4 separate regions of the Homo sapiens genome follow, and regions 1, 2 and 3 are each linked to region 4. Evidence: promoter capture Hi-C in 16 types of primary human blood cells and fetal thymus (Javierre and others, 2016). All regions are on one chromosome and are shown on one strand. Each heading gives the region's core, a stretch centred on a gene start or on the middle of the fragment in contact. The rest is flanking DNA. Distances are from core to core; before and after follow the strand shown. Region 1 has its middle 100 kb from the start of IKZF1. Region 2 has its middle 88 kb from the start of SPMIP7. Region 3 has its middle 24 kb from the start of FIGNL1. Region 4 holds the start of IKZF1 (IKAROS family zinc finger 1).

Evidence for each region. Contacts are between HindIII fragments. The CHiCAGO score rates a contact against its expected background, and 5 or more counts as called.
Region 1: a contact is called between a fragment that was not itself captured here and the fragment with the promoter of IKZF1 in region 4, in 16 of 17 cell types (activated CD4 T cells, total CD4 T cells, naive CD4 T cells and 13 more). The highest score is 55.4, in activated CD4 T cells.
Region 2: a fragment that was not itself captured here is called in contact with the fragment with the promoter of IKZF1 in region 4 in 15 of 17 cell types (activated CD4 T cells, total CD4 T cells, naive CD8 T cells and 12 more); the score reaches 17.1 in activated CD4 T cells.
Region 3: a contact is called between a fragment that was not itself captured here and the fragment with the promoter of IKZF1 in region 4, in 14 of 17 cell types (total B cells, activated CD4 T cells, naive B cells and 11 more). The highest score is 21.8, in total B cells.

What each region holds. Positions count from the first base shown.
Region 1 is chr7:50,198,934-50,203,301 of GRCh38, forward strand. No RefSeq gene overlaps it. Among named protein-coding and RNA genes, the nearest start is that of IKZF1, 100 kb to the right of the region's middle. The HindIII fragment of the contact is 272 bases long and covers 2,799-3,070 here.
Region 2 is chr7:50,181,488-50,185,852 of GRCh38, forward strand. No RefSeq gene overlaps it. Among named protein-coding and RNA genes, the nearest start is that of SPMIP7, 88 kb to the left of the region's middle. The HindIII fragment of the contact is 7,231 bases long and covers 1-4,365 here.
Region 3 is chr7:50,424,119-50,428,625 of GRCh38, forward strand. No RefSeq gene overlaps it. Among named protein-coding and RNA genes, the nearest start is that of FIGNL1, 24 kb to the right of the region's middle. The HindIII fragment of the contact is 1,840 bases long and covers 1,109-2,948 here.
Region 4 is chr7:50,302,636-50,306,713 of GRCh38, forward strand. It overlaps IKZF1 (IKAROS family zinc finger 1), which reads left to right and starts at 2,081. Exons shown (of 8, transcript NM_006060.6): 1 at 2,081-2,287. RefSeq lists an enhancer at 38-539 and a silencer at 1,394-2,193. The HindIII fragment of the contact is 6,071 bases long and covers 1-4,078 here.

The sequences.
Region 1 (4,368 bases), core at 1,685-4,184, 100 kb before region 4:
GTAGCTGGGATTACAGGCACGCACCACCACGCCTGGCTAATTTTTGTATCTTTAATAGAGACAGGGTTTCACCACATCGGTCAGGCTGGTCTCCAACTCCTGACCTCAGGTGATCCACTAGCCTCGGCCTCCCAAAGTGCTGGGATTACAGGTGTGAGCAACCGCGTCCGACCACAAATATTAGTTTCTAAATCTTACTCATTTTCTAATGCAAGTTCACATTTTCCTTTCTCCTTTGATTTGAATAGAACTTGCCATTGTTTTGCATCCACCCCTGTCACTGTTTGGCCCATCTTTCACATCATCCTCTCGCAAACTCCCAGGTGTGTCCTCAGCTTGCCACACATTTCACATCCATGACTTCTTGGGGGTGAAATAAGACATGCATATAGTTGGCAGGGAAACAGTGATGCACAAGAGAAAGGTCCAGGGCACATGCTGTGAGAACTGAAAAGAGGGAAGGAGAATGGCTTCTCTGGGGGTCCTTTGGATAGGGCAGGAATCATGAATGATCAGTAGGACCTGGCCAAGTGAAGACAATGGCATGAGCAGGAGCACTGCAGTCAGAGGGAACAGCATGAGGACAGGTAGGGAGTGCAGGAAGCGCAGGCCTGTCCTGGAGCAGCAAGGAGCAGGTGGGCTGCAGATGGCATTGAGTAAGGAAAGGAGGGACTCTCAGAAGCCACTGGGCATGGATGGGGGCCTGAGTGTGGACTTCATGACACATGTATGCTTTCTGTTTAATGGAGAAATTTAATATTGAACATGTTACAGTAAGAACTCAAATCTCCTTAAATAAAGGAATTATTCTGATACTTCTGAACAGAGAGGGGTAAAGAGAAAAGCGTAATTTAGGGAATGACATGTGTTTGGATTTGTGTGCTGACTTTCCTGTTTATTAGCTGGGTAGTGTTGGATAAATTAGCCCATTTTCTCTGAGCCTTAAGGTCTTGCACAGTGAGACGAGAATCTTACCAACCATGTCATAGGGCAATGTGTGAGTGGACTGAGAAGAAGGCACCTGCATGAACCCACAGAATGCCTAGCAAAACGTCTCCCCTCTCCTGGAATGGCCCAAGTGGCCCAGGTTATGTTGCCCGATACTGAATTGCACTGGGAAAAGACACATGGTTTAGCTCAGATAAGCCAGTGGGGAGGCCAGATGTCATCTCTGAGATTTTATAACTGAGTGGAACTTTTTATGTAGGAAAACAAGGTAAAAATTTCCCAAGGGGTTTCTACGAGATTTCCAGCACTTCCTAAATTAGCCCTGACCAGTAAAACCACGAGAGAAGACTTCCTGGCAGGGCTTGGCACTTCCATTTCCAGAACCAACCGAAAGCAGGAAGCATTGAGACAAGTAATAATTCAACTCTTCAGTTGGCTTCCAAAATTATCCACATTTGAGTCCCTTGGCATTTGTACCAAAGGTCAGGAGTTATTCTGATTTTATCTGTTCCAGGTCTTCAACTTGTTTTTGAGTGAACCAAATGCTTCTCACTGATGGAGGTATTTTATGTCTTCCTCCTCACCCCAGTGTATGCTGAACAAGCCTCCCAGTGATGAGCAATTCCATACAATTAGCAGAAATCCCTTAGCTTGAGGTTGTCCACCATTAACCTGGAAATAAAAACTTTAAAATTCTGCTCCTTGGATTTAGATCACCTTGGTACAATTCTCAGCTCTGCCATTTATTAGCTGTGTGACCGTGGGGAAACTTTTAACATTTGCTATGTCTTGGTTTCCTATTCTATAAAATGAAGAAGCTCCATACCCATTAGGATGGCTACTCATTCAAAAAAGTTAAAAGAAAAAACACACAAAAAAAAAGCATTGGCAAGGATGTGGAGAAATCATCATCCTGGTTGGGAATATAAAATTGTACAGCTGCTATGGAAAACTGTATAGCTGTTCCTCAAAAAAATTAAACATAGAATTACCATATGACCCAGCAAGTCTGCTTCTCGGTATCTGCCCAGAAGAATGGATCTGAAAGAGATATTTGTATGTCCATGTTTATAGCAGCATTATTCACAATAACATCCACCAAAAGGTGGATGTTTCCATCTATAAATGAATGGATAAACAAACTGTGGTAAATGCACAATACGGAATATTACTCAACCTTAAACAAGAAGGAATTTCTGACACATGCTATGACATGAATGTACCCTAAGGACATTATACCAACTGAAATAAGCCAGTCATTAATGAATAAGTGCTGTTTGATTGCTCTTATATAAGGTCTCTAGAGTAGTCTAATTTATAGAGAAAGTAGAATGGTGGTTACCAGGAGATAGGGGGAGATGGAAATGAGGACTAAATGTTTAATGAATTCAAAGTTTCTGTTTAGGAAGATGAAAAAGTTCTGGAAATCATAGAGAAAGTAGAATGGTGGTTACCGGGAGATAGCGGGAGGTGGGAATGAGGATTAAATGTTTAATAAATACAGAGTTTCCATTTAGGAAGATAAAAATGTTCTGGAAATGGCTGGTGGTGATGGTTGCATGACAGTGTCAATGTACTCAATGCCACAGAACTATATGCTTAAAAATTGTCTGAAATGGTACGTTTTATGCTATGTGTAGTTTACTACAATTAAACTTTTTTTAATGAAGAAGCACTTTATTTTCAAAAACAGTGTTGGAACATTACAATTTTTCTATACCAGAAATTCCATCATAATGCAATCGTGGATTCTAGGCAAAGCACATAACCATACTAGGCCATCACAGGACATGTCACCTCATTGGTGTGGCGCATTCTTAGAAGGCCTGGCCTTGGCTTTAGGGTAGCAAAGCTTCTCTGGCAGGTATTCAGCTGCAGCGATACAGTGCCTGCGTGGGCATTCCTGCCCCTGGACACGTGGACACATGGAGTTTTCTGGCTTCTTTGTGAATGATACTCAGGCCATGAGCCCCAGTCCCTCCACTAAGAATAAATCCATAACCTTATTTTGAGCACATAATCTGATAGATCATGATGCCAGTGATAAGTTTGCCTCACCATTTCCCTCTTCTATTTTCTTTTACTATGGTATTCTTCCCCCCTTTCTTTTTTCACTTTTCTAAGCTTTATTTGAATGTTTCTGTCTGCTGCAATGGTTTGTCCAAAGATCAACAAGAATAGACAGGGTGTGAGTCCCCAGTCACAACAGTTTTTGACTCCTGTGTTGACTCAATGAAGTCAATAGAAGTTCAAGCCCATCCTTTTTCTCTGACATCCTGGAAGCTCCTGTGTCTTCTCTTGATCCCTTTTGATGGCCTTTGCCCTGTGACCAGAAGAATGCAGAGCATGCTGCAGTTTGGGACCTCAGCTCTGCTGTCAGCACTATGACAAGCTCTTGTTATCTGGTCTCTGTGGTTTTTGATGGGCCAGTGAAATGGGGAGAGGGTGGCCTTTAGGGCCACATAGATGTGAGTGCAAATTCCAGTCCTGCCACTTAACGGTTTTGCATCTACTCTGTGAGGCTCAGTTTTCTTATCTGTAAAATGGAAAATTAATAAGAACCTTGCAGGGTTGTTGTGAGCATTGAACAAGATGATGCAATTAGAGTATGTCATGTAAAAGAGGCAATGAACTGTTCCAAAGCCTAGTGGCTCAGAAGAGCAAGGAGTTGCTGTCTCTCAGGACTGTGCGGATTGTTCCCTGAAGAGTGTGGCCTCAGCTCATCTGTGCAGCTTCTTTGAGCTGTGGGGTCAGCAGAGCTGGTGGTCACATGTCTGGCAGTTGGTGGCTGCCTCAGTTCTTCTCCATGTGACTCTCTTCCTCCAGAAAACCAGATAGGTATTCCTTCCTAGTGGTCTCAGGGCAGTTTCAAGAGGTCAAAAGCAAAATCTGCAAGAGCCCTCAAGGCGTAGCTTCTGGAATTTGCACAACTCTGTCTCCATCCATTTCATTATCCATTGATGTCAGTGCAAGTCACAGGCTGCTCCTGAGTCCAGACTCCAGGGATCAGGAAATGGACCCCACTTCTTGATGGGAGAGCCCCAAAGCCACATTGCATTCTTCTGCTCTTGTATGCTCACCTCTGACACTATCTACTGTCATACACCATCTTCAAGAGTAAAAATAGAAGAGATAGAGATTACTGACTGACACTTAGCATTCCTAAATTTTGAATCTGACCCTGGGTCAGCAACCTACCCCTGCAAGCTTCCCATGGGAAGCTAAGCCTCAAGAGAAAATCCCTGGGTGTCACTGTTGGCCTCAAAGCCACGTAGAATCACTTCAGTGACACCACTTGCCTGAACTGAAGGGAGCAGGAGTAAAACTACTTTACTTCTTTGTTTTCCTCAGCCTAGCCCTGTTATTATCCTTACTCCTTTGATGGTAGCAGGAAAAATGTTCAGCAAGGAGAAGCAAATA
Region 2 (4,365 bases), core at 1,010-3,509, 120 kb before region 4:
CACCCTCAGAGTGTCTGTGAGGATGGCCATTTGGGTTTCTGATGCATTGGATCCTGGCAAAATTATGACATTTGATCAAGGACCATTGACGTGCCTGAGTCAGAGGACCATTCCATACACTGGGAACACAAATGCCAAGGATTTTTAAAACTGTAATTATTAAGGCATGGCACATTCTGTCCTTACTGAACAATCACCTCTCCCTGGTAACTGCTTAATTATTTGAAACCTTAAATATAATTTGCTTTGGGAATATACTTGGAGTTGTATTTATTTTTAAGTGGTGAGGGGGTAAAAAAGGAAGTGAAATACAGGATAAAATTGTAACCAGGTAGCCTGTGTCTGGAACAGGTGATAAGCATTGAACAGAGGTTTTGTGCCAGATGCTGTTTACTGATGTTATCTATTTGTCTCTTACAACTAATAATAATAGCTAATAGTTTCAGAGACCTTGCTGTGTTCTAGGCATGATTCTAAGCATCTCACATATATAACTCACTTGACACACACACACACACACACACAGACACAGTACTATTACACATCATTTTAAATTTAGAGAAACCAAACTATGGAGAGATTGAATAATATGTCCAGGGTCTCACAGCTAGCAGGTGGTTGAGCTGGGAGTTGAACCCAAGACAGTTGATACCAACGTCCTTGTTCTTATTTACTAGTCCATGCTGAAGTGAGAGCTAGGTCCTCCTCCAGGCCCAAATTCATCTCCACTGTACCAAAGCCAATGTTGGCAATTGGTATTGCTTCATTTAGTTACTATTATAATCACGATTCTAGGATTTATTCAGTCATTCCAACAGTAGGCCAGTTGTTCATTCACAAACATTTGCTGCCACCGGCCACTTACAGAGGCTATGCTAGGCACTGAGGGTGCTAGCGCCATTAGGAATGCCAGATAAAAATAATTGTCAAGGGCTGGGTGCGGTGGCTCACGCCTGTAATCCCAGCACTTTAGGAGGCCGAGGCGGGCGGATCACCTGAGGTCGGGAGTTCAAGACCAGCCTGACCAACATGGAGAAACCCCGTCTCTACTAAAAATACAAAAAAAAATTATCCGGGCATGGTGATGCATGCCTGTAATCCCAGCTGCTCGGGAGGCTGAGGCAGGAGAATCACTTGAACCTGGGAGGTGGAGGTTGTGGTCAGCCGAGATTGCGCCATTGCACTCCAGTCTGGGTGACTGAGCCAGACTCTGTCTCAAAAAAAAAAAAAATCATTGTTAAAGAAAATAGTCACTTATTCATTTCCGCCAAGAGATGCATATATCCCTTGAATCTGCATTAAAACATTCAGCTTCTCAAATCACTTTATTTTTCACTGTGAACACAACAGCATTGCAAAGTCCCACAAGTCCTGGTTGTTCCTGTCCTGGCCCTCCATGCTGCACGCCTCCCCAACCCTGACCACATAAGCACAGGCTGCAGCTTCCTCTTTCCACCCTGCCAGCCTCTTCCCATGTGGGCTCCTTACTTCTGCTCCCAAGGAAATGCGTATCACTCAGGCTATCCATGTTAACCGTCTCATTGCTGGATTCAGTTCTGAGTCTCATCTGCTACTGTCAAGTTCCCTAATTGTCTAAAAAGCTCATTTCTATGTTCTAAGTCTGCATAGTATTCAGAGAGGGCAGTCTGCAGTTTCTAATCTGCAAGGACAACTGCTTCTCATCCCCCAAGCTGGTGGGAGGCACAACCTTGGATGCACACTTCAGCTCTGCTTGTGATCCCCTTGAATGAAGGAGCTGAGCCTATAGGGGGAAAGCATTCGTTCACATGGCAGCAACTCAACACCAAGGACTCGCATTTATGCTCAGAAAAATGCCACGAGGTAGTGCAAAAGCTGTCTTGTGATTTAATAGGTACAGCAGAAGAAACAGTGGGCTGGAGAAAGAACGTCACATATGGCCCATGCTGACCTCCCTCTCCCCACACGGTGCTTACTGAAATGTCCCACAGTGAAATGTGAAGTGAGTTTACTGAATATTTATTTGCAACTGAAGTGTCCTTGGGTATAGTAAATGGAAATTTTCTCTAGCTTTAGAATTGCTAATAAAAGCATTTTAGGATTCAGGAGCTAAGGCAGTTTCAGGAAGCTGCCAGCAGGTGATAATCAGGTGCCATCCCTACAGCTGATGTGACATTTTTCTCTCACCAGATTAATTTATTGATAACTACATCTAAGAGCATAAGTTCCATGAGGTAGTGAGTCCTGTGTGTCATCTCCATTGCTCTGGCCCCAGTGCCAGGCACAGGCCCAGGCACATTGTGAGTGCTGGAAAAACAGGATTTGAATGAATGAGTGAATGAATAAATGACTATGGAAAATTTGAGGGTTTTCCTGTACATCAGTTTTTGTTTTGTTTTGTTTTGTTTTGTTTTGTTTTTGTTTTTGAGATGGAGTCTGGCTCTGTCTCCCAGATGGAGTGCAATGGCATGATCTCGGCTCACTGCAACCTCCACTTCCCAGGTTCAGGTGATCCTCATGCCTCAGCCTCTCGAGTAGCTGTTATTACAGGTGCCCGCCACCACGCTTAGCTAATTTTTATATTTTTAGTAGAGACAGAGTTTCACCATGTTGTCCAGGCTGGTCTTGAACTCCTGACCTCAGGTGATCCACCCGCCTTGGCCTCCCAAAGTGCTGGGATTACAGGTGTGAGCCACAGCACCTAGCCCTGTACATCAGTTTTTAACTGTGGTTGCTCATAATATGGAACTTAGTAAGAAATTCAGACTTACTGAGTCAGACTGTAAGGAGGTGAAGTCTGGAACTGATATTTTGCTGAAATTTCTGAAGAAATCGAGTTCACAGAGATAAGTAATTTTGCCCCAAAGCACACAGCTAGTAACCATCAGGGTCTAGTCTAAAGTCCCAGGTGTGTCACCTCCTAGACGTATGCTTCCTCCACTAGACGTTCAACCAACATGCTTGGACTCCATCTGTTCCCACGCCTCAACCCTCAGACTCTGACAGTTACTGTGTACCGAACGATCAGTGGGCTGACACCACCCCACTCTGCCCAGGGAGAACTACCGCTGTGGATGAACTTCCTTTTAAATAGTGGGGAGTTAAAATTGGTTTGTATTTTACAATCATAGATAATGTGTTATAAATCTTAATATTTTTCACCCATGAAAAAATACTGTTTTGCTTTAAAAATACAAAGCTCACCTCAAACTTTTCTAGAGTGGAAGGCTAGATTGCATTTTTAGAGGACCCTTGGCCTTGCTTCATGCAGTCCTCCAGGAAATAGATTTAACGTCTGTCCCTCCGTGCCTCCACTTAATGCTTCCTGTAGATATGGCCATATGTCTGTTCTAATAGCAGATATTGCAAGTGTTCGGCCACATTTAGAGTCAAAGAGAGACAAGACAAAATGGGACTTTGCACCCAAATCCCACTATTAGCATAACTAGAAAGTTGATCCTGGAGGCCTTTGGGGTTTCTGGGCCTTGCCCCTGGTGCAGCCGGGATGCCAGCTCTTCATATGTGTGAGCTGTGCTGACTGTGTCCCTCAGACACAGTCCTTATTTTGCTCGCATTAGTCAGTTTCTGCTGCTTATAATGCAAAGCGTGTTAAATATCCAACCCTCTGACCACACGCACACAGGTCCACTTATTCACCAAGTCCTGATCATTCTACCCATTGAGTAAGTGAACCTTCTTTCCATTTTTGCTGCCATTGCCTTCAGGTCCTCTTTGTGCTCCACCTGGGCCACGGCAGTAGATGTGGAGTTGGTCCCACACCCAGGTATCTTCTTTACAGTCCACCCTGTTCCCTGCAGCAGGCACAGGCACCATGAGCTTCCTAACCTGGGTCCCCAACTTCCTCAAGGGCTCCCCAGCCTTTGCATAGCCCGCAGGGCCCTCCCTGACATGCCCAGCCTCAGCTCTGCCACTTCCCTTCTCTAGCACCCACTGCCCCTGCCTGCACCAGGAACCTTGCTTTGAGTAACACCACAAGCAGTTCCCACAACATGAGATGACCTTGGCCTCCTCCCAGCTTTGTACTCTTTCTTCAGCTAGAATTTTTAGGTCTTCTGGTCCACCTGCATGTTCTTACTCAAGTCGTAAGATTATAATTAGATGCTACCTCCTCCGTGTGGCCTTCTCTTCCTTTGCCAGTCAGTGGTGGAATGTTCTCTCCTTTGTCATCCACTGTGAGGCCTTTTGAACCTTGTGCTCTGCGGGTCGACTAGTGAGATGGACACCCTAACTCTGTCACCACCAAGTAATCTAGAATGTAGAGGAAGTTGTTTGATCTCTCTAGACCTCAGTTTCCCCACGTGTAAAATGGAGTAAGAATATTCCTAACTTCTTCGGGTTCACTGTGAGGACTGAACCCTAAGCACA
Region 3 (4,507 bases), core at 779-3,278, 120 kb after region 4:
GTATTATGTCCTATATCATTTTATGGTTTCCATTGAATGCAAAATAACTTATCTCTATGAACCATAGAATTTCCACAAAGTCTGTTAAACTCCATAGCTTGGTGTTGACGGTGCTTTGGCATCTCATGAGAGGGTCCTGAGCCCACACACTTGAGGGAGAATTGGAAGCAGTGCCACCCTCTTGCCTTGCCCATGAAGCTCGAAGGGGAGAGTCTGTCCTTTTTGTGGGCAAATGCTGGCAGTACAGAGTCCCTGTGCTGAACCTGTCATTCAAGCAGTCTTCCCTGTGGCATGTCATATCATGTATCGTATCAGATCATATTATTTTCGCTATACAAAAGGGCTTCTTGTGACGAGAACCACCCAGGGCTCATCGTGCCATGTTTTCCTAGTGGCAGCATTCCGAGTCCATCTTTCCTTCAAATAAGAAAAATGTTCACATAGCGAGTGGCCACGATTCCAGTTGCCAAAGGGTGGGATTGCCCAGAGTCCCCTAAGACTAATAAAGGAGGCATTAGAAATATCAGTGGGGAAAGGAAGATTATTCAAAAATTTTTGCTGAGATAATTGGTGAGTTATCTGATAATATACATCTAAATATCATTCTGACATTTAATGATATTGAGAGAGCTCTGCTGCATTTCATATCTCACTTCATGTGCCTTGTTATTTTTTCTTTTCTCTTAGCCCCTTTCAGATTCTTGCATCCTGCAAGTTGATGCTGTCCAGGAAAATTATTTGTGGTAAAAGAAATGTTCTATATCTGTACTGCCCAGTATGAAAGTCGCTAGCTACGTGTGCTCCTGAATGTGGCCAGTGCAACTGAGGGACAGATTTTTAATTTTATTTAATTTTAATAGATTTATGTTAAATAGCCATACGTGGATAGCGGCTGCTATGTTAGGCAGCACAGCCACAGCTGGATCTGAAAAAATTGTTATCACCCATCTTCTAAGTAGATTATTTCCTTAATGGTATCTAATTATTTTGCTTTGCCACAGTTACTGTTCATTGTGTTTTTGCCAGAGTTTGTGCTGGTGAGATTGAAAACATGCTTAATCTTAAGTGAAACATCTCTATAGGATTTTAAACTTGGAAATTATGGTTAAGCTTGTTTGCCTATCGTGAGAGATGTGAAGCAAAGAGAATCCGTAATTTAGCTGAAAGAACTACAGTCATGCTCACATGAAGTCTGATGCTTAGAATGTCCACGGACACATTATTGAAGTGGCATTTATTATCACTGGACACATTATTGAAGTGACATTTATTATCACTTTAGTAATGTAATTCAAATAACAGTGCCTCCCTTCTTCCTGGGACTCTACTTTATCTGTTGTCATTGTTGCTGTTGCTGCTGCTGCTGTTATTTTGGTAGAGCCACCTGCTCCCCACACCTGCTACCCCCCAAAGCTCTCAGCAGCTTGGGAGCTGAGCACAATCTGGGGCGCAGGCCTCGTCAAGGCCCTGACGAATGGATCATTTTATTGCTATGTTCATGTTGGTTGGCAAGTATAGATTCCCACTGAGGCTCATTTTGCGGGTCGGGATCTGAGGGCCCTGCCCTCTAGATAGTACTAGATAGATCTGCAGCCACATTTCTTGAAAAGTTCCAATATAAGAAAGACTTTCCATGTAGGGTGAAAGCCTACTAATAGATCTACTAAATAGAATTGTTTTTCTATTCAAAAAAGGAATCAGATGATGTTGATAATGTATTATGCTTGTATACAATGTTATCACTGGGGGCAAGTGGCTGAAGGGTACTAAAGAACTCCGTCTTATATTTGCAACTTCTGTGTCTGAAATTTTCAAAATAAAAAATTATTTTAAGATGAAGAAGGCAGGAGATATTTTAATCAGACAAAAAAAGGTGCATGAACTAGCAAGTTTCCAATAAGCAGTAGGATCTCTAAGTTTTTACACAAACAATAGCTATTGGAAGGACACTCAGGAATCTATGGAGGTAAACCATGTCTTTCTTTCACTATGAGATTTTTAGGGGTAAATACATATGGTTAGCAGTGAACTCACAAATAGGGCAGTATGTTTGAATTTTGGGCCACAAACTCAAGTGTGCTAGAAATATCATTTTACTGGCCTTACTATTTACTGCTACATAAAATTTATTCAAAAACTTAGTAGTTTAAAACATGAGATATTTATTATCTAACCATTTCTGTGGGTCAGGAATCTAGGTGCATTTAGCTTTGTTTTCTGGCTCAAGGTGTCTCACAAGGCCTCAGCTTGGGCTGAGGTCTTATCTGAAGACTCAGCTAGCTGAGGGTTCACTTCTAAGCTCATTTTATGATTGTTGGGCCCGAGGCCTCCCTCTGTTCCTTGCCACATGGGCCTCTCCACAGGGCAGCTCCCATTATGGCAGCAGGTGCAAATCAGAGTGAGTGAAAGAGCAAGAGAGGATGAACAAGCCAGAAGCTACAGTCTTTTGGTAAATTAGTCACAGAAGTGAGACCCTATCACTTCTAAATTCTGTTCATTAGCAGAAAGTCCCAAGTTCCAAACACCCTCAAGGCGAGGAGATTACACAGAAACATGAACAGAAGGCAAGGTTTGCAGGGACCACCTTAGAGTCTGCCAGAGTCCACCCTCTGGCCCCCAGTGATTCACATCCATGACACATGTAAAAGATATTCATGCTTCCCAAGGTTCCCCAATGTCTCTGCCCATTCAGGTGTCGGCACAAAGTCCACAATCTTATCATCAAGTCCAGGTCCAGATAAGTATAGTTCCTGGGGCCCACCCTTCCTTGATCTGTGGACCTGGGAAACAAAAGAGAAGAATGATCTGCCCCCATCTCACCCTGTACACACAGGTGGACAGGCAGAGGATAACAGCTATACACATTCTCATACCCGGGACGTACAAAAGAGTCACCAATCCATTACAGTTCTGAAATCCAGGCAGGAGAATGTTGGGTTTCTTGATTAAGCTTTAAGCCCTTAGAATAAATGACCTGTGGCTCTTGGCTTTGCCTTCTGAGTTTTAACGCTGCCCTCTGGGTCATCCTTCCATTTTCCTAAAAGGCATTTGCAGGTGAGAAGTTTTATCAGCCTTTGTCCTGCCAGTAGAATTTGGGAGTCTGAAGTGGCCTTTTGTTTTACTCTGTCTGTCCCCATTAGTCTAAGCTTGTGATGTTTCTGCTGAAACAGTTTTCTCAAATATTCTATGGGCTTTCTGTGGATTTTAATGGGTTCACTCCATTGGACACAAGTCACATCCACAGACCTTTTTGTAATAATACCTCCTCCACCTTGGCCCCCTGGGCATGAAAGACAGATAGTGCCCTTAAGCTTCCCAGAGGCCCGCTAATTTATTGAGAGGGTCTGTGAAGCACTGAAAGGTATTTTGTGTGAGTGAATATTCTGAGCTTATATTCCTTCTAAGATTTTGGCAAATGGTTGTATAGTTACACCCTCTGCTTTTCTCCCAGAGTGCATTTTCCTGACAATAAATCTCTTCATGTTGGCATCATTGCCATTTGGTGATGCTAAAGAATTTTCAAAGTCCTCAAGTCATGGTTCTGTTTTATGCACAGTTATTCTGTCAATATACCTATGCCCTTACATTTTACTATAAGCAGCAAAAAGAAACCAGGCAGCACCTTCAACACTTTGCTTGAAAATCCCTTTCACTATATAGCTAAGTTAATCATTTACAAGTTCAGCTTTTCACAGAATTTCAGGAGACAGTTTCATTGAGCGTTTTGCCACTATATAATAAGATTCTGCTTCTTCCAGTATCTAATAACGTGCTTCTCCTTTTCTTTAGAGATCCCAATGACAGTGCCAAAGTCTCCATAGCTAATAACAGTCTGTCCAAGATTCTTTAGGCATTGTCTATTACACTCCTCAAAATTCTTCCAGCCCCCGACCATGGCCTGCTTCCAAAGCCACTGCCCCATTTGTAGGGATTTGTGACAGCCCCCAACCACTTCTAGATACCAAAATCTGTATTAGTTATCTAGTGTTACATAACAAATTACCACCGACTTAGCAGCTTAAAATCACACAGCGTCTATGTGTTTGGAGTCTAGACATAGCCTGGCTGGATTCTGTTTCAGAGTCTTACTAGGGTGCATTCAAGGTGCCATTCAGGCTGCATTCTCTTCTGGAAGATCAACTGGGAAAGGCTCCATTTCCAAGCTTACTCGGGTGGCTGGCAGAATTCATTTGTTTGTGATTATATGACTGAAAATTTCCGGGTTTTGCTCCCTGCTGCCTGGATGTGGCCCTCAGCTCCTAGAGGCTGTCCCACCTTGTGGCTCTCACAGCAGGCAATTCACAACACAGCAGCTTGCTTCTTCAAGGCCAGCGGGAGAGTGAGAGTGAATGTTCTAGCAAGATCAAGTCTTAGACAACACAATCATGGGACTGACAGCCGATGACTTTTGCTGCATGCTGTAGTCTAGACGAAAGTCACAAGTATCCACCCCATTCAAGAGAGGGACTGTCAAAAGGCGTGAGCCCCAGGAAGCAGGGATTGTAGA
Region 4 (4,078 bases), core at 831-3,330:
CTGGCTCAGACTTGCCCAGCGGAATGCCCTTCAGGACACACTGAGTACTGTAGTAAGAGCTGCATATGCGCTCAGGGAGAATGTGGATAGACGCTGTTTGTGATTCACGGGTAAAGGGCCTTCTCCCAGAGGCAGCAGAGGCAGATCCTGTCTCTGGTGTGCCCTGGCCCCCGACTTGGAGGCCTCCTGGGCCAGGCCAAGACCTTCCCCGGCAGCGATGGTCTCCAGCCACACTCAACTGCCCTGAAGGGACATTTCCTGCTTATTCCCTTGCCCGGCTGTGTCCTCCACCCGGAAGGCCTGTGCCTTCTTCGCCTGCATGTCCTACCCTGAGGAGGCTCCCTTGGTCTTTCATCGCTCTCCCTATGGGTCTTCACGCCTTCCCGAACCACCGCGCCCAAGCAGGAGCACGTTCTCGGCCCTCTTCACAGGGCGCTCCTCCTCACAGGGGTGCCCGGGATTTTTATTCTGTGCCTTCCTGGTGGCTCCTACAAGTCTGGAAGGGCAGGAGGCGCATCTCACTCCTCTGGGTCCCCTCCCCTAGCGCCTGGCGGGAGCCCAGGCTGCATTTGTGGAATTCATGACTTTTTCTCTCCTGCTCAAGCTGAACACATTGCTGGCTCCTGCTCGGGTGGAGCCCGGCTAATTAGAGTGAGGGGCTCCCCGTAGGGCGAAGGGGTGCGCTGTCAGATGTGGCATTCCCGTTTTACGGAGACACACGGTGTCTTACACGCCAGGGAGAGGTCTGAGACGCAAAGAGCCGTCGAGCGGGCTGCGGGATTGCTTCGCTGTCACCTCCGCCTGCAGCCACCCTTCCGCACGCACTTGTGTGTGCACCCAGGCCAACATGGAAGGCGCCATCCTAACTTCTGCCGTGAGCAGGTGGGAGGGAAGAGAGACGAGAGGTATTCCATTGGTTGTCTGGGAAAATGAATTGCACCTTCCCCTCCCTTGCGGAGGATCAACTTTTCCCACCCCCTCGGGTGGGCACTCGCATCCTGGGGCCGGAGCCTGAACCCGGGAGCCAAGGGGCCCCAGTTCCAGGGACGTGAAGCTGAGCGTACAGCGGGCGCTCCCAGACACTGGGGAAAGTGCTTTACGATGTCCCGAGTCCCTCCAGTCTCGCCAGCGGGGCGAGCGTGAGGGTGCCCCGACCGACCAGCGGCCCCGGGTGCAGGGTGGCGGGCCCGGCGGCGCGCGTCCCCCTCCCCCTCCTGGCGGCCCGCACGTGTCGCCCGCGCCGCGCCCCCACGGGTTACGCGCGGGTCCCGCAGCGCCGCGGCCGAGCCGGGCTGCCCGGCCCGCGGACACAGCGCCGGCCGCCGCATCCCGTGCGGGGCCGCGGCGCGATGCTGCGCTGGAATGAGGAAGCGCGGCGGCGAGGGGAGGGCCCGGGCGCGGTGCGCGCGGGGGTGGCGGCGGCGCGCCGAGCGGGCCCGGCGCGGGCGAGCGGGCTGCAGCCGGCGGCGGCGCCAGCAGGTACGGCCCGCACCCGCCGCCGCCCCGGCGGCCTTTGGGGGCTGAGCCGGAGCCCGGCGCGATTGCAAAGTTTTCGTGCGCGGCCCCTCTGGCCCGGAGTTGCGGCTGAGACGCGCGCCGCGCGAGCCGGGGGACTCGGCGACGGGGCGGGGACGGGACGACGCACCCTCTCCGTGTCCCGCTCTGCGCCCTTCTGCGCGCCCCGCTCCCTGTACCGGAGCAGCGATCCGGGAGGCGGCCGAGAGGTGCGCGCGGGGCCGAGCCGGCTGCGGGGCAGGTCGAGCAGGGACCGCCAGCGTGCGTCACCCCAAAGTTTGCGGGGTGGCAGGGCGCGCGCTCTGGCCACCCGCCGCTCTGGGCGGCAGCTGGTGGCAACGCAAGGGCGCGGCGGGGGCGGCCGGCGCGGAGGGGGCCAGGTACGGGGCCCGCGGGCGGCGCTGTGCGCGCGGGGCAGCCGGTCGGCCGGGAGCGCGAAAGCCTGGTCTGAGCCGGCTGGGGGCGGGGAGTGTGGCGGAGAAATGGGGAACAATGCGAGTGAGCAACTTCAGGAAGTCATTGTGAAAGAAAGCTGGGAAGAGCTCCGCGGCCAAGTTAGCAGGACACTCTAACAAGTGACTGCGCGGCCCGCGCCCGGGGCGGTGACTGCGGCAAGCCCCCTGGGTCCCCGCGCGGCGCATCCCAGCCTGGGCGGGACGCTCGGCCGCGGCGAGGCGGGCAAGCCTGGCAGGGCAGAGGGAGCCCCGGCTCCGAGGTTGCTCTTCGCACCCGAGGATCAGTCTTGGCCCCAAAGCGCGACGCACAAATCCACGTGAGTGTTTTCAAATTGAATTTCAATAGGAAAACTTGGGGTAACTGGTGAATTTAAAAAAAAAAAAACACAGTAAAGAAAAGCGGTAAGGTTGGTAGACCCTGGTGTCGCTCAGGTCCGCCTCTCTTTTCTGAGGACAGTGAGAGAGTTCACTTCTGTCAAGCGTCTGTTGCTCTGCACTGTGCCAGCAGGTGCAGGACCAGGCCGACATGGGACACTTCTGAGCAGCCCCGCTGTCACCAGGAGAGGAGTTCTAGCTCCCAACCATATTTAAATTTATGTAGACCTACATATACCCACGGAAGTCAGCCTTTATAAAGTCGTGTGTAAAGAGTTTTCCTTATATTTGAGCCGGGAGCTTTCTTTTTATACTATAAATATGATGAGATCGAGTCTGAACTTAATTTCTGCAAGAGAGGAATTATCCCGGCTTTGAAAAGTTAGTCCTTTTGCTGACCGCAGGTTTGACGCTCAAGTCACCAAACCTTCTCAGGAAAACCCTTAGTAATATTAAGGCATCAGGTTACTTGCGGTTATATTTGAAATGTATTTTAAATATTTGTCAAGCATCGCTGCTGATGCCTAAGGAACCTCGTGAGGGCTTGTTTTTCCTTCTAATTTGGAGGCATCTAATGACCGAAAACCGTAGCGATTCCATAGGGTCTGACCAGGCACAGCTTTCAAATGCAGCTTCCCTCTCTCTAGGGACTGCAGCCCACCCAGACTGAATTTCAATGCGGTGCGCTTTGCTTAGGTTACCCACTCACAATTTCCCACTGCGCCGCAGGCAGTATATTTCAGCTTTGAGATACCTTGTTTTAAAATTCCAGACAAAATGGTGTTGAGGAAATGTCTCCTTACTAGTCCCATCAACTTCTGTTAAAAGAGGAAAATTTATGGAATTTGAAAATACTGCGTATGATATTTAAACTTTCATAGACATTCAAATGCTTTTAAGGCCAGGTTCAATTTGGTTATGAGTCGAGGGGTGGGGGGGACCCACATAGAAATGTCCTGGGTCCTCTTGAGTTTATTTCTTTGTTTGAAGATGTTTGTTCAATGAGTTTTATTGTACTCATCTTTTATATGGAATTTTAAAAAGTAACAATTTCAGTATTATTTATATTAGAATGTGTCAGAATTATTTCCGTGACAAATCAGATCATTTGGGCTATGGCTTAAAATGTACACGAGGCAAATATTCATGACAAGAAGATTCACCTTCTTACGCTGGCATCTTGTAAAATGCAGAACAAGTTAAAGAAATAATGTGTACACATACAAATAATGATGTCACATTAAAAATACTACACTATTCTTGCTTGATGGAATGTATCTGATTTCCAATTTCACCATGAACATATTTCATACATTTTTTACATGAAAAAAAACGTGACTCTTAAGTCTCACAGTCAATCAGAGCTGGTGACCAGAACATTTTATTGAACTAAATGGTCATGTTTTCTTCCCCTTTTGTTTCACGGTGAGAGTTGAAGGAAGGAGTTTAGAAACTCTCCAGTACTTGTTTAATTCATCAGTGTTCTAATTAGAGTGGTACCTCTTGGAAAACTACACACCCCCCTAATGCAGAAACATCATAGCAATAATCACCCACCCTCAGGGTCTCCAGGAGACCACAAGGGCTGCAGATAAAAGTCTGGATGTGTTAGGTTTGACCCTTTCGAAGAGTTTTACACAGGCTCCTAAAGAGAAGATCAGCTGTGGCCGTTTGTAGCCATTTCCTTTGTCGAAAAACTAAGATCGCAGTGAATGTATTAGCCAAGAGGTCTA